2 separate regions of the Homo sapiens genome follow, and region 1 is linked to region 2. Evidence: promoter capture Hi-C in 16 types of primary human blood cells and fetal thymus (Javierre and others, 2016). All regions are on one chromosome and are shown on one strand. Each heading gives the region's core, a stretch centred on a gene start or on the middle of the fragment in contact. The rest is flanking DNA. Distances are from core to core; before and after follow the strand shown.

Region 1 (5,477 bases), core at 744-3,243, 650 kb before region 2:
GGTTTAATGTTCTTATCTTAATCTGCATTAATTAAGCTGGCATTCCCATGGCTTAAATGAAGCCCACAAACCTGAAGGTAAGGAAGCAGCTGGAGTAAGCCATACACATTGGGGTTTGTTTTGAAGGATGGAAAATAGGCCAGGTTGGACAGAAGCTAGAGCTAGGTAGTGGGGAGGAGGTACACATAAGAAACTTTCAAAGAGGCTTCACTTAGCAGTTAGATAAGTCCTGAAAGCCAATCAGAAGGGTCCTTCTCCGTGGCTTCTAGGACTAACATGGCCAAGCTCCAAAGTCCTTTGCTAAAAACAGCTGAAGAGAGCCCAATTTTGGAATAAGCCAAGGACTATACACTCTTATATGTATATGTATCATATAATGAAGATTTTTCTATAGCTAATTAGCCAAAAGATAAGCAGGTGCTCAAAGCTGTATTTAAGTTCATACTGAAGTACTACATTTTAAAGCACAATTTATAGATTACAGAAACTGATGACACAAAAACCGCTGCAATCAAGTGCTAGATATACACTATAAACATCGGGAAAAAATAAAGATTACCCAAGCCTATACTCTAGATCACAAAATTTGGGAAAGGGAGCACTAACCATTATTAAATGCAATTCCTTCATGTTATAAATGACTTTAAACCTCTAGGGAAATTTAAGAAAGGTGCCCTAAATCTCAAAATGAGAAAATGATAGTTTTACTACAAAGGTGGAAATGGTAAGGAAAAAAAAATACAAAAGTTAGAAGAATATTCTAAGTAATGTACTTCTAAGTAATGTAATTCTAAGTAAAGTCTGGCTAATGAAGGAAGAGGAAGACAAATAGAAAACTTAATACAGTAAAAATGAAAAAATGCATATGTGCATACTAAGTTTAAAGATTACTTTGAAATTACTATAGTGAACTCTTCAGCAGACCACTTTTCGGAAACAACACAATAAATTCATAAATCTGGGGCTAATGATCTCTCCACAAATTCTGTCCTCTATCATCACAAGTGTCCTGTAAGAAGCGTCCATGCCGAAAACAGAGCTGAACGTCCCAAAATATTGGCGTTTTTGCCTCAGCTGTGCACATCCATTCTCATGGGAACACAAAACTGACAGAACTTCTTCATGACTTGTCAATTAACAAGATCGCGCCAGCCCAACTGCTAGCAGTACCGTGTGCCTGCCACCTGTTAGCTGCTCTTGAGAGAGCCCCAAAACTGAGGTAAAGCGAAGAACTAGGAACGCCTTTGTTGTACCCTAACTATGGAAGCTACCAGAGTTCAGTCTAACCCGGCGCCTTAAGGCAAAACTTCCCCCAGGCTGGGGAAGTCTTCCCATTTCGGGGCTTTGGCAAAGCTCTCCTCTAGCTAAGGACAGGCAGAAGAACCCCAGGAGAAGCACTGTCACCTACTGGTCCCAGGAGGAAGGATCAAAGCTGAAGAAAGTTGGGGGACAAGGAACTAGGACCCTAGGGAGAGGCTCAGTTTCTCGTGGTGAAGAGTGAGCACAATGAGAAGCTGGGCCGTCTCGCTAGGTGAAAGAACGCTGAGATCCCAGATCAGGGGTAGGGGAAAAGAGGTTCTAAAAGAAGGGAGGAGGAGAAAAAAGGAGAGGCAGTGGCTGAGAGAAGCGCTGAGGCGTAAGGCAAGAAACCGAGGTTGGAAAAGGACTGATGAGGCTGAGGAAAAACAGCGAGGCGACAGAGGCACGGAAGCGCGAGAAGGCTAAGCTGAGGTGAATAAGGCGAGGCCAGCGTGAAGGAAAGGGCTGAGGTGAGTGAAGCACTGCAGTGACAAGGGACAGGCGAAGAGACTCCCACCCACAAGGACCGAGGCAGAACTCTAGACCCATCCCCCTTCACGCTGTGCTCGCCCGGCTGCGCTCAGACCCTGTTGGCAGCTGAGACTCACCCAAAGGCTGTAAAAGCCCCACAACAGGACATGGAGATCAGTCCAGACCCACAGTAGAACCAATCGAGCGGAGGAAACCGCGGCGTTAGCGTGACCCGGATGCGCATCGCTAGGAACCGGAAGTAAGCGGCCAGAGTCACCTCACAATCCACACCTCGTTCCACTAGAAACCTCTGGGCGCATGTGTTGAGTCTGACCGGGCGGGGAAGCTTTTAGGCTCCGCCCACTCCGCCGGCCCGGCGAGCCACGCCCATGGCCACGCCCCTCTTAGTGCCTCGGAGACAAGCAGCTTCTGGGTGAGCGCTAGGCAGTCCTGACGGTACTACAGCCTTCACTTTTAAGGAGGTCTTTAAAAATGCGCGTAATCCCTACCTGGCTAAAAGGAACGTAAGAAGTGTTGGGTGCATTTGGTAGATTTAGAAAAACTGGGAAGGAGAATGAGTGGGAAGTTTTGGAAGACATTTGGGAGGCTAGCCCAAGGTGATCTTTTTTTTTTTTTTTTTTTGAGACGGAGTTTCGCTCTTGTTGCCCAGGCTGGAGTGCAATGGCGCGATCTCGGCTCACTGCAACCTCCGCCTCCCGGGTTCAAGCGATCCTCCTGCCTCAGCCTTTCGAGTAGCTGGGATTACAGGCATGTGCCACCACGCCCGGCTAATTTTGTAGTTTTAGTAGAGACGGGGTTTCTCCATGTTGGTCAGGCTGGTCTTGAACTCCCGACCTCAGGTGATCCGCCCGCCTGGGCCTCCCAAAGTGCTGAGATTACAGGCGTGAGCCACCGCGCCCATCCCTTTTTTTTTTTCTTTTTTTGAGACAGAGTCTTGCTCTGTCGCCCAGGCTGGAGTGCAGTGGCGCGATCTCGGCTCACTGCAACCCCCGCCTCCTGGGTTCAAGTGATCCTCCCACCTCAGCCTCCCGAGTAGCTAAGACTACCGGCGCGCACCACCACGCCCGGCTAATTTTTGTATTTTTCGGTAGAGACGGGGTTTCGCCATGTTGCCCAGGCTGGTCTCCAACTCTGGAGCTCGGTTGATCCCTTGGCCTCCCAAAGTGCTGGGATTACAGGCGTGAGCCCCAAGGTGATCTTTTTATCCCCAAATTTAGTTTATTCTTAATATTATATTAGGCTTACAATTCACTTCGTGCACACTGTTTTCGGAAGCAAAATTCTTAAATGTTTCGTTAATTTTAAATTACAACCCAAGTATGGGCTAGAAGCAAGGTTGAATTCAGGCTTTGTGGAGACTTGACGTTTATTCAATTTGGGGGCCCTCTTTAAAATAATCAAGGCCAGGCACAGTGGCTCATGCCTGAAATCCTAGCACTTTGGGACGCCGAGGTCGACCGGTTGCTTGAGCCCCGGAGTTGGAGATCACCTGGGCAACAAAATTAGACCCTGTCTCTACAAAACAAACAAAGCAAAACAACAACAAAAAAAACCCAGAAAAATTAGCCAGGTGTGGTGGCACGCACCTAACTGAGCCCAGGAGGTAGAGGCTGCGGTGAGTTATGATTATGCCACTGCACTCCAGCCTGGGCAACAGAGCGAGACTGTCTAAAAAAAAAAAAAATCCAAAATTACAAATACAATATTAGATATAAAAGTGAACCTTTTATAATGAGAAAAATTACAAACATTTTTATTAGCTCACAAATACCACGAATAACAAAATCCAGAAAAAAAACTATTTTTTCTACATTTTTTGACTGTATATTTGATCACCTCTTCCGATGACAACAATGTACTAAGCAACATCATTTACTAAGATCCTTAACTCCTCTCTCATATCCCACATGTACTCCATCAGCAAGTTCTGCAAGATTTGCCTTCAAAATCTGTCCAGAACCTGACCATTTACTGCCTCCGTTGGTATAAACCAGTCAGTCAGTGACTGTGAGTGCCCTATTTATACTCTTGCCTTCCCACAATCTTTTTTTTTTTTTTTTTTTCAGACAGAGCCTCCCTCTGTCACCCAGGCTGGAGTGTACTGGCCTGATCTTGGCTCAGTGCAACCTCTGCCTCCTGGGTTCTCCTGCCTCAGCCTCCTGAATAGCTGGGATTACAGGGGCCCGCCAGCACGCGCGGCTAATTGTTATATTTTTAGTAGAGACGGGGTTTTGCCATGTTGGCCAGACTGGTCTTGAACTCCTGGCCTCAAGTGATCCACCCGCCTCAGCCTCCCAAAGTGCTGGGATTACAGGTGTGAGCCTCCACGCCCGGCCCCCACAATCTATTAATATAGTAGCAATGGGCTCCTGTTAAAACCCTAATTAGATCATATCCTTCCTCCAATGCATTCCTATTTCAGAGTAAAAACCAAAATCCTTACATTGGTCTACAGGACCCTCAAGATTTGACACCTCCAGTACAGCTCTGCTCTAACCTCAACTCCTACTCCTTCTGTCATCCTTCCCCTTAAAGCACATTGGCCTCTGCCATTCCTCAAAACTACAGGTAGGCCCAGGGCCTTTGTGCTTTTTAATCCATCTGCCTGGAGTGCTCTTCCCCCAGATACCTGCATCATTCATCCGCTCACCTCATTTACATCTTTATTCACATGTCACTTTCTCAATGAGATCTTCCCTGACACTACATTAAAAATTGGAACACTACCATCCTCTTTGTACTTTCCCATCCAACAAGTTGCTTGTAAATTTGGCTTAGTGTCTCTCTCCCCCTGCCAGAATGTAAGTTCCATGAGTCCATGGATGTTTGTCCGATTTGTTCACGGATGTTTTTTCAGCACCAGAATGGAGCCTGGCACACTGTAGGCACTCAGTAAATGTTTGTTGAATGAAGGGCTAAATTGCTCATTTACTTTGGTTTTCCTGATCTGAAACCCTGCAAACTGAGCCACCACCTCCACCAGAGGGAGCCCATGAGTAATCAATGCAATAGCTCCAGAAAAGTTATGCCTAAAGCATTTACATACATATACACTCTGTTTAAGGACAGGAATATGTTCTGAGAAATCCCTCGTTAGGTAGTTTCATCATTGTGCGAACATCGTAAAATGGACTTATACACACCTAAGCTATATGGTATAACCTATTGCTCCTAGGCTATAAATCTGTATAGCATATGACTGTACTGAATACTGTAGGCAATTGTAACACAATGGCAAGTATTTGTGTATTTAAACATATAAAAACATAGAAAAGGTACAGTAAAAATATTAAATAATCTTATGGGACCACCATCATATATGCATTCTATCATTTACCAAAATATCATTATGTGACAGCTATGATTCTAAAACAGAGCTACAAGAAAGCATGCAAATTCCTCCCCAGAGCAGAAGCTGTACCTTGCTGGTGCTCTAGTGTCTTTACAGTCATTTAAGAATAAAATCCAGGCTGGGCGTGGTGGCTCACGCCTATAATCCCAGCACTTTGGGAGGCCGAGGCAGGTGGATCATGATGTCAAGAGATCGAGACCATCCTGGCCAACATGGTGAAACCCCGTCTCTACTAAAAATACAAAAATTAGCTGGGCATGGTGGCATGTGCCTGTAATCCCAGCTTCTCGAGAGGCTGAGGCAAGAGAATTGCTTGAACCAGGACCTGGGAGAC
Region 2 (5,476 bases), core at 25-2,524:
AAATCCAAGATGCCATGTTATTTATTTTACCGAGTCCACCCAAGCCTCCTATATCCAGCGTGTGGATAGTACGAGGTTGACAATTAGTGCATTAGTTACCTGTTTACCACGACGTACTTGCAATAACAAAAGCTATTAGATGGGCTTTCCTAGTATCAAATATTCCTGCATGAGTTGGCTTTGCTTCTGATTGAAAATACTTTTGCCCATCCTTTGCATCTCCCCTATATTCTGGTTCCCTAATACAGAGTCTCGTAGGGGTAGAGAGATACCATTATGTTAGTGTCAGATACACCTGGCTATTTAATAGTTTTGTAAACTTGGGCACATTACTTAAGCTTTCTGTTTTTCCAGTCGTAAAAAACCGAAAGACTGATAGCGATTTTGAAGTTGTCGAAAGACTTTAATGTGTTTGAAAATACCTAACAACAAAGCCTGGCCCACAGCTGGTATTTCAATAATGTTAATTTCCTTGCTTCCCTCTTGAGGTCCTTAAGATTCATAGGTTCTCCGGACTCCTTGAAAGTTTTGTGTAGATGCATGAGGTGTATTTTTCTTGGAAATAAAGTCCACAATTTAACAGATTATCTTGGGGCCAGCGATTTCCCCGAAAATAAATTGTAGATTCTCCTTCCTGCAATGCTAAGGGGTGAATCTCTTTTGCGGGAGACTGGATTCTTTCGGTGTGTGTTTTGCTCTCTGGGTACTCTTTCTGTAGTCGGCTAACAGAGGATGACCAAGCCCCTCGCGGGGGCGGGGGCGGGTCACTCCCGGACAGGGCCCCCATGAAGTTTCCCTGGGGACTGTGTGACTCCCTAGGGGTCGGGTTACCTCCCAGATGGGGGTGGGGTATCACTTGCAGCTGGAAGGCAGGTTCATTTTAAGGTCTCGCGGGCTTCGGAGGCCCCTCCCTCACTGAGAAACCGGCTTTTGTCGTTCTTCTGAAGCCAGAGCTAGTCTTTCCAGGTGTTAGTCGAAACCTCGTGGTGCGACCCTGGTCGTCCCAAACCCCCTAGGCCTTAATCCTGGGGCGGTGGGGGCGGGGAGGCCGTGAGCACGGCTTCCGCTCCTCCAATCCGCCAGAGGGCGCAGCGGCCGGCCTCTCCCTTCCCGGGGTTCTTCGCGCCGGGCCCCTTCCGCGTGGGTGAGTGAATGTGAGAGTCAGCGCTCGCGCCGCGCGCGCCGCCCGCCTCCGCTGTTCGGCGCTCTGCTTTAGGCGGTGGGGGGCGGGCGCGCGCGTAAAAGCATAGAGACGGGCATTGAGCTCTTGGGCTAGAGCGTCGCCGAGTCGGAGCCGGAGCCTGAGCCGCGCGCTGTGTCTCCGCTGCGTCCGCCGAGGCCCCCGAGTGTCAGGGACAAAAGCCTCCGCCTGCTCCCGCAGACGGGGCTCATCTGCCGCCGCCGCCGCGCTGAGGAGAGTTCGCCGCCGTCGCCGCCCGTGAGGATCTGAGAGCCATGTCGGCCAGCAGCCTCTTGGAGCAGGTACAGGCCCGGCCCGCATGCCTCGGCCATTGTGTGAGGCGAGAAGGAGCCCGACTAGGCCCGGGCCCGCCGCTCCTGGGCAGGCCGAGCCGAGCCGAGGCGTCGTCTCTTGCGGGCCAGGTTTCGGGCCTCTCAGGCCGGCCGCGCCCGGCGCCTCTCCCTCAGCCTGTTCTTCCCGCTTCTCCTCGGGCCTCGGAGCCCACGGGCCGGGCCGCGCCGCGTTCCCTTCTCTCGGCGGGCCTCGTTTTCCTTCCTTGTTTCCTTCCCCTTCCTTAAAGCCCTGGGTTCCTCGCGTCGCCGGTGGCGCGTCTGCCGCGTTTTCTCCCCTGCCCCACGGGCCTGGCGCTTTCCCCCGCCTCCCATTTTCAGCCTCTTCCTCACTACCATTCCTGACGCCTCCCCTCGGGCCTGCTCCTTTATTCTCCCTTCGGGCCCTGCCTTAATTTGTTCTTCCTTTTCCATTTCTCCTTTGGACAACTTGCTGCTCGGCGACGTTTCCTTCCCCTGCAGAGACCAAAAGGTCAAGGAAACAAAGGTAAGTCCCGCTCCGCCGGTGGCCCTGAGCCGGGAGGGGGACGCGGGGCGGTGGGGGCGGGGTCTCCGGGAAGCGCCCCGGGCGGAGGACCTTTCGGAAGCCGCTTAGTTCGCAGGTGCCGCACACTTAAGTATTTTGACCCTTTCGGTGTGTTCTTGCAGCTGGCGAACAGCTTTTTCGCTAACAAGGAGTAATTCATTAAGGGTGGGGGTGGATTGGGTTTTGAAACGCTCCAGGTCCTTAGTTTCCTGTAGGTCTTAGAAGGCCTTTGTTTTTCATCCTCGTGGATCACTCTCTGGAAGTACTCTCATGTGATGGGGGAGGGGAAGCGGGAGGGAATGGAAATCCAGAGGAGCCAATAAAATGACCTTTTTAGATCAACTTGCTCTGGGTGGAGGGGGACATTTTCACTGGCGACTGTCGCTTCAGCATTCACTGTCATCTCTTACCCTTTTGAAGTTCAATCTTACGTGCTTTGTTAACTAGTAAGGTTTTTCTCTGGTTAGCATATATGAACTAATTTGAAAGGAAGATTGTAGGATTGGGACACTCCTAATTGAATTTTTTTTTCTTTAGTACAAAATGGATCTGTACATCAAAAGGATGGATTAAACGATGATGATTTTGAACCTTACTTGAGTCCACAGGCAAGGCCCGTGAGTAGTTAACTATTTACATATCTAATCGAAGGGTGTGGTATATTCTTTCTCCGCCTTCTACCAATAAATCCCATTTTCTGAGGATTCATTTTTTTTTCTTTTTTCTGTTTTCTGTTTTTTTGAGACTGAGTCTCGCTCTGACGCCCAGGCTGGGGTGTAGTGGCGCAATTTCGGCTCGCTCCAACTTCCGCCTCTCGGGTTCAAGCGAATCTCCTGTCTCAGCCTCCCGAGTAGGTGGGATTACACGTGTGCACCACCGCACACAGCTAGTTTTTCTATTTTTTTAGTAGAGACGGGGTTTCATGTTGGCCGGGCTGGTCTTGAACTCCTCAGGTGATTCACCCGCCTTGGCCTCCCAAAGTGCTGGGATTACAGGCGTGAGCCACCACGCCTAGCCGAGGATTCACTTTCTTAATACCTGTATTTTTTCTCTGCCCTCTATCAGGAAATCCCATGTTCTGAGGGTTCACCTCCTTAATACCTATTAATGTATTATAAAACAGTTAACTGCAAATGTCCTAGGCCGTTGAGATTCCCATCTCTGTAATATCAGCAACCATACTGTATTGAGAACGTAATACTGATAACACTCTACTGGCAGTAACATGTGCATGAATAATTGTCTTCTTCCTTACCAAGAATGTAGCAGTGCAGAATTTAGGGATTCTTACAGTGTTAAATATTCTGAATTTTCACCCCAGAGAACTTTGGATTCATATGATAGGGAAAGTTCTAATGTAAAATCACCTGAAGGCGGGAAGATCTCTTGAGCCCAGAAGTTTGAAGCTGCAGTGAGCTATCTACGATCATACCTGTGAAAAGCCACTGCGCTCCAGCCTTGGTGACAGAACAAGATCTGGTCTCTAAAAAATAGTCACCTGAACTTCATTCAGTGCTGCAGGACTGGCTGTCTTTCTTTTCTCTAGTTTATGGGTTCTTAGATTATCAGAACTATTTCGGAGTTAGGAAATTTTTTTTTTTTTTTTTTTGAGACGTAGTGTCAACTCTTGTCACCCAGGCTGGAGTGCAGTGGTGCAATCTCGGCTCACTGCAACCTCTGCCTACCAGGTGATTTTGCCCGCCTCAGCCTCCCAAGTAGCTGGGACCACCATGCCCGGCTAATTTTTTTAATTTTTTTGTAGAGATGGGGGTTTCACTATGTTGCCCAATCTGGTCTTGAATTCCTGAGCTCAAGAGGTCCGCCCTCCTCGACCTCTCAGAAGTGTTGGGATTACAGGTGTGAGCCACCATGCCCGGCTGAGTCAGGAAATTTTTGAGTTGAGCTGCACCTACATCTGTGGAGAATACTTTATTTCTCACCGAAGGGAGGTGTAGGATTTATAAAATGGAGTGAAAGTTAAAATACTGTTTAGCACAAATGAAGATCAATAACGTTGGAGGTTTTTGTGGCATAGTCTTTTAAAGTTGCATGTAGATTCAAATACTAATATGACCTGTGCATGTAGAAACTTGTTTGATTCAGCAGTTCTTTTGTATTATTATCTCTGATTCCAAAGACAGTTACACTGTTGTAACTAATTTAACTCCCCAGATTAATAGGCCAAAAGGAAAACTGGCAATATATCTTCCAAAATGCCCTGAAAGGTCAAGAAATTTATAAGTTCTGAACGTATGCTGTATGAAACATAGTTGGTAGTCCTGAATAACTGCATGCCCATATATGGATCTGATTATCACATAAAACTTGTAGAATCCCTGTGTAAAATTTTCAACACTGAAAGTATAGAAACCACTTGAGCAAGTGATTGGAAAAAAGTTTTCACAAAACACAACCAGTTAATCAGGAAAAGTAGGGAAGGAAGTAGAGGAATGAACTATTAATAGGTTCCTGCTATTGAAGTAGTTTGCTTACATAATCATTATAACAGGGAGAGTTGGAGCATTTAGAAGCATAATTCTAGGTAGTTCTTGTAAAACATTGTGTAATTCAAATTTTTTAGCTTGAGCATGTGGGAGCCTGCCAGTTCAGGTACAGACATTCAACTGTGTCTTGGCATAACCTGTGATATTAAGTGCATTTGATTTTTCTTTCTCAGGTAAGCCAAAGCTTAAATGTCTTTGTTTAAAAAAAATTTGGCTAATAATATAAATCTTAGATGAGTAGATGAGGAAGGGTAACCTGAGAATCTAGTTCATTGTCTAGAGTAAGTCATCTACTTTTTAGCCAATTTTTCATTACCCTATTTTGGAATAATACTTCAAGTTTAATCTGTTGATTATAGGCTGAATTTCTTATATATGTGGATTTGGGTCTGCTAAAATTTTTAACCTTACCTTTGTGAGAAATTTTAAATGTGAAAAGGGTATGTGTGAAAAGACCTCACTTTTGTTTTTATGTATTATTTATTTATTTATTTTTGAGATAGAGTCTCACTCTGTCACCCAGGCTGTAGTGCAGTGGTGCGATCTCGGCTCACTGCAACCTTCACCTCCTGGGTTCACACCATTCTCCTGCCTCAGCCTCCCGAGTAGCTGGGACTACAGGCGCCCGCCACCATACCTGGCTAATTTTTTGTATTTTTGCTAGAGACGGGGTTTTAACTGTGTTAGCCAGGATGGTCTCGATCTCCTGACCTCGTGATCCTCCCACCTTGGCCTCCCAAATTGCTGGGATTACAGGTGTGAGCCACCGCGCCCGGCTATTTATTTTTTTTGAGACGGAGTCTTGCTCTGTTGCCCAGGCTGCAGTGCAGTGGTGCAGTCCGGCTTACTGCAACCTCTGTCTCCTGAGTTCAAGCAATTCTCCCACCTTAGCCTCCTGAGTAGCTGGGATTACAGG

What was found. The method cuts DNA at HindIII sites, captures the fragments that hold promoters and counts their contacts. A CHiCAGO score of 5 or more calls a contact.
Region 1: the fragment with the promoter of EYA3 here is called in contact with the fragment with the promoter of YTHDF2 in region 2 in 1 of 17 cell types (fetal thymus); the score reaches 5.0 in fetal thymus.

What each region holds. Positions count from the first base shown.
Region 1 is chr1:28,086,617-28,092,093 of GRCh38, forward strand. EYA3 (EYA transcriptional coactivator and phosphatase 3) reads right to left here and starts at 1,994. Exons shown (of 18, transcript NM_001990.4): 1 at 1,908-1,994. RefSeq lists enhancers at 1,594-1,653, 1,864-1,933. The HindIII fragment of the contact is 6,678 bases long and covers 1-2,114 here.
Region 2 is chr1:28,735,666-28,741,141 of GRCh38, forward strand. YTHDF2 (YTH N6-methyladenosine RNA binding protein F2) reads left to right here and starts at 1,275. Exons shown (of 5, transcript NM_016258.3): 1 at 1,275-1,482; 2 at 1,993-2,017; 3 at 2,594-2,673. The coding sequence starts at 1,456. RefSeq lists enhancers at 1-91, 622-671, 991-1,889, 1,772-1,881. The HindIII fragment of the contact is 4,406 bases long and covers 337-4,742 here.